2 separate regions of the Homo sapiens genome follow, and region 1 is linked to region 2. The links are contacts of gene promoters, found by promoter capture Hi-C in blood cells and fetal thymus (Javierre and others, 2016). All regions are on one chromosome and are shown on one strand. The core of a region is centred on a gene start or on the middle of the fragment in contact, and the rest is flanking DNA. Distances in the headings are between cores, read along the strand shown. Region 1 overlaps GABPA (GA binding protein transcription factor subunit alpha). Region 2 holds the start of LINC00158 (long intergenic non-protein coding RNA 158).

Region 1 (2,700 bases), core at 91-2,590, 310 kb after region 2:
AGTAGTTTCCACTAATAGCAGTAGGTCTGACTCGTGAGAAGAGCAAAGATTTAGCAGGATTCACTTGAGCGAATTGTAGAACGAGGCGGTGATAACATTCTTCGGTAGTGTTATCTTGAACTTCAGAAGAAACCGCTCAACTCTTTAGCAACTGCTTGAGGGACTAGCCTGTCTCTCAGGGTTCCATCCAGGCTTTCCAAGCTTCTTTATTTTTAGACATACAGTGACGCTGAGTGGACTTCAAGTCAATTTTACCTGAATTGTGTATACAAGAGCATCTGTCATGAGGCATGTATAGTAATGAAGTAATTAAATCATGAGCTAGATGTTAGGTTGAAGCAAATCATCAGACCGAGTACTAAATTAAAACTGTTGACTTTAGCCTTCCCTCAACTCTTTATATATAAAACTCCAAACCTACAGAAGAATTGGGGAAAAAATCATGCAGTGAACACGCAGATACCCTTCACCTGAGGGTCCCAACTGTTAATCTTTCACTGTATGTGCTTTCTCTTTTTATATTACATAGATATGTATGCTTTGCTTTTTCTTAACTGCTACCTTTATTTTTGAAAATAAAAATGTCTTTTAATTTCCTCAGACACAGAAAAGCATTTGATAACTTAGGAAAATGTGCAGTTAATCTCGCAGGTACCCCCACACTCCACTTATAATATATTGGGAACAAAATGTTCTAAGCTCTGTAATAATGCTCTCCAATGAAGGACAATTCTCAAATTTATCTGTAGTTTCAAAAGGGAATGTTACACCTATCTGTATTTTAAAAGACACTAGCCGTTCCCAGAATTTTTCGTTAAATTCAAGTTTAGTTTGTATCCCATCTTGTGAAACATTCCGAACCCCAGGTTGGATTTAATCCAGCAGAACCAGAGTGTCAAAGTATATGAAATTGTTCTGTGCAGTTCTGGCGGGGGCAGCCCTTAGACGGAGAAACTGCAAGTAATTTTCTCTCAGTTTTCCTAAGTATTGACATAGAAGCCTGAGGAATTGGTTTCAGAAAAAGAGATAAGACTCACTCAAAAACTGATATGAAAGATTTGGACTATTTCTCAAATCTCTGTTTTGCTTCTCTGGACTAAGCATAGAGAACCAGGAGAGAAAGAAAGATTTAAGAGACTGAGTAATATTTTTTGACAGATCATTTAAGAAACTGAGTAATTTTTTTTTTCTCCAAAAGGGCATGGGTTTTTGTTTTGTTTTGTTTTTTCTCTATTTGGCACTTTCTAGGGATTGGTCTATAAATTTTTTGAAAGATCATAGGATAAATTTCTTTGTAGCAACTTCCTATTTTAGTGTTTATGTTAGGGGAGCCCCAGGTGTCCCTGCTGATACGCCATTAGGGCCACTTCTCAGCCTCTGGCTACATCATAATGCTTTTTTTTCTATCTTGCCAAAGTTTCCAGAAAATTTATGTTTTCTAATTTTAAAAAAATTGGTTGTGGAGATGGGAGTGGACCTCTTTATAAGCCCTGAAAATAAGTGATTTTTTTTAAGTGCTATTCTGCTATAAACCTGATTCTCACTTTTTTCTGTAGACAACAGTTTTTTATAATATATCTATTTTGTGTGGACATTATTTCCTTTTAACCAATACTGAAATTCCATAGTGTATACTTTCTCCACATTTTCTTTGATTAATACTTTCTTAAAATAGACACTTGGATTGGCACCAGCTGTCACCAATAAAGCTGCCCTGAACATTGTCAATCAATCCTGTTAACCAATTTGAGAATTTTTCTGGAATGCTTAGTTAGGGATGAAATTGCTGGGTTATAGGTATGAGTATGCTTGATATACTTTTCTCCAGAATGTCTACACCTGTGTGTACACCACATCTCCAGAGATAGGGGAATCTTATGTCCCTGCTAACTGCTCTCGTTATTTAATTTTCTGACATTTGCCGCCGCCGCCGCCCCCTGCCCCCAACACACACATGGTATAAAGTGGTAGTTTCTTGTTTTAAATTGAACTTTTGAATGATTTGAATTTGGGCATTTCTTTGTATCCTGAGTTATTTTGGTTTCCCGTTATGTGAATATCCTTTTCCTATGCTTTAACTACTTTTCTAATTTGTCCCTTTTTTTGGTTATCAAATTCCAGGCCATTGTCTATTCCATCGTCACTTTTGGGTATTGGAAACATCTTTCCATTCTGTAGCCTGTCTGTTGAACATAAATCTTGATTTTTATGTAATCAGATTTTTCTCCTTACGGTTATGTTCTTGGAATTTTATTTAAGAAATCTTTTTCTATCCTGAGACCACAAAAATGTCCCCACCATTTTCTTCTGTTTCATAGTTTTGCCTTGTATGTTTAATCCTTTAAGGCATGTGTAGTTCATTTTATATGGTGTGAAATAGTTCTTATTCATTTATTCAACACATATTGGTGGAGTGCCTGCTGAAGGTAGTACTCTTCAGAGTACTTTGTATATATTTGTGAACACATATTCTTGCCCTGGAAGCTTATGTTGTCCTTCAAGGTAGATCCCTACTCGGTTTCCACCTGTTTTCTTCAGCCCTCAGGATGAATTCCACAATTTTACACATAGCACCAGTTAAGGAATAGGCTTTATTGGAGAAAAGGAAGGCTTATTAGACCAGCATCAGCAAGAAAAAAAAAAACCAAAAACAGAGGGTCTTCATTTCTTCATCATCCCCAAAAAAGCCTGCTGGAGCCT
Region 2 (2,700 bases), core at 56-2,555:
CTAACAGGTTTACCAGTATCATTAGAATCTCAGTCACTTAAAGGTAAATAATGGTATCTGGAAGCAGTAGAATATATTAATTAAGAGAAGCAGATTTGGAACAAAATAAACTTGGATTTGACTCCCGAAACATCCACTTACTTAATAATTGTTTATGTGCAGAGGGGGCCAGGTAGGTTCATGTCTCTGAACTCTAGCCTCTGTATCTATAAAATATACCCGATCATACCTTCTTCTGAGTGTTTTTTTTTTTTTAGGATTAAAATGAAATAGTACATAGTAAGACCTTGACATAGTACTTGAAGCATGTTAAAATGATATTGTCTTATCCCATTTTGCCCAACATGTAGCCACCTAGCTACTACATCGTAAGTATTTAGAAAGTACATACATTTGTTACCAGTGCCCCATGATAGCAGTGCCTGATGAAGTCATAATGCAATGGAGAGCAAATAGAACAAGTGGAGTCTTCTGAATCCTAATGCACTTTACTGATTCTAGAAAGAATAAATGAGAGGCTATGCAAAATCTCAAGCTCAGCTAAGGAATATATTTTGTTGAAGGTTTGTGCTTCCATTTTATGGTGATTGGAAAGGGACTGAGCTAGAAAGAAACTGAGCTAGAAAGGAGCTCAGTTCCTCTCCAATCATCACAAAAATTTACATTCCATAGTATGCAACATCTTGTCAGGAAAAACAAATATAATCCTTCACATGCAATCTTTGCTCACAATTATGAGATACTGTCTTTATGGGTCTAAATCAGAAATACTGTCTTCTTACAGACTCTTGATGTGATCTGTGCTCATCCTTAATCCTTGGTAAAGTTCCAAAATGGCTCTGGATCCTACTGACATCTGTTACTAAGGATAATGCATGAAGGAGATGAAGATATCTGTTCTCAATAAACAGAGAAAACATTACTAAAGAAAATGTAGATCAATTTCAGATCTCCTTATCCATAGATAAGGAAATGCAAGTTATTAGAGACCTATGAAAAATTGCTGTTCAGACATAAAGATGCATCTTTTTATTTCAGATCTTTACCACTTAAGTTTAGCCTAGTATTTTTTAAGGCCAATGAAACAGTTGGTGAAAAAGAATAAATGCATTTGTGATCTCCAGTGTGTTCTCTCCATTCTAGCAAAAAAAAAAAAATTCCAAAAACACTTGTTCATACAGCTACAAGTTTGAGGCTTTTCATAGGAAATAAGATTTGAGGTCTAGACTAATTGATTTTATAGCTTCACAACTGAATTTTGTAATGTAGCCACAGGTCCATACACAGCAGAAGCTTAGATTAATCCTTTCCAAAAATAAAAGGAAAAAATCCATGTGAATCACTTCTAAATGCCTCTGTATTGCAAATGAATGATGTTTGGGTGTGCATTTATACTACTTGTCTAAGATAAGACCTATTTAACAAGATATAGTTTATACCTCATTAAAGCAACATCTACTTCTCTTGCTTGGTTACTGGTCTTTCACAGCCAGTCCAATTGGCCAATATAAAATACACTTCCATTCTGAAACCTAAGTTCCACAAGAGAAAGAACATTTTTCTTTTTAAGTAGATGTATTTCATTATCTTTAAGAGTTTATATTATATACATGACATTACCCCCATTTAATTTTTGTGCTGGTCAGGGATTATTCAGTGATGAAAAAAGTTTTCCCAAATGAGGGCAAATAAAAACATTTTTGCTGGAAGACTATAAAGGACAACTTCATAGACATTCAAAAGTGAAAAATAAAATACACCCAGACCTCTTATAAATATATTGGGAACTGGAAAATCAGAAACTGAGATCATCTCTCTTAATTCACATGATTTCTCATCTCCTTCTCACTAGTACACTTTACCTCCTGATTTCTGGTCCAATCCATTGAACCCATTTTTTTCACTCAATGTGAGTAAATGTCATATAAAAGGTTGCAGGAAGATGCTGCTTCAGGCCATTTTCTCTAAAAGAGACTTGTAAGTACAGAGGTCATTGAAGTTTCATGAACTTCTTTATCCTTTTTGATCAAGTAGCAGATTACCTCTAACTAGTCCACAGCTTCCACATGGAAGATGGACAAACATATAGAAATGGGGAAGAAAGAAGAACCAACACACTTGTCAGCAAATTCAACCTAAGTCAGCCTCTTTTCAATGGGCTCATGGGAAATGAAGCATTTCCTGGGACACAGAGGAGGGAGAGAAAAATCTCCCATTATTGGGGATTGAACCATAAGAAAATGTTGTTTCATGGCCCCAAATGGCCAAATACCAACATATTATGTGATCCAACTAAATCACAATGGTATAATCAAACAAGTTATTCTGATTATTACCAATAGAGACACTAAAATTTTGGCTGTGTATTAAACCCTCTTGCTTTTCACATCTTCTCAATGTATTTATTTTATAGCACATCTGGAACAATCCTTTTATTTATTAATGAAGATCGTCTCAATTGCCAAAGTCTATATTTTTCTTCCACTTAATGAAAAATATCCAAAGTTGCTGGTTATGGGCCCATCAGAGATTATTTTCTCTTAATCATATTTCATTTAAAAAAAACTAGTCAGTTCATTTTTCTAAAAAAAAAATGCATGTTCAGAAAAAAATACAATCACTGAAAGCCCAAATTTCCAGTACAATTTAATAACAAAAAAGGACGGAGTGGAGTAGGATAGTCACATGGTTCCTGTTATC

What was found. Contacts are between HindIII fragments. The CHiCAGO score rates a contact against its expected background, and 5 or more counts as called.
Region 1: a fragment that was not itself captured here is called in contact with the fragment with the promoter of LINC00158 in region 2 in 1 of 17 cell types (M0 macrophages); the score reaches 5.4 in M0 macrophages.

Annotation. Positions count from the first base shown.
Region 1 is chr21:25,736,292-25,738,991 of GRCh38, forward strand. All of the region lies in intron 1 of GABPA (GA binding protein transcription factor subunit alpha), which reads left to right. Among named protein-coding and RNA genes, the nearest start is that of GABPA, 2.7 kb to the left of the region's middle. The HindIII fragment of the contact is 2,283 bases long and covers 200-2,482 here.
Region 2 is chr21:25,430,396-25,433,095 of GRCh38, forward strand. LINC00158 (long intergenic non-protein coding RNA 158) reads right to left here and starts at 1,306. Exons shown (of 5, transcript NR_024027.2): 1 at 783-1,306. The HindIII fragment of the contact is 1,417 bases long and covers 1,292-2,700 here.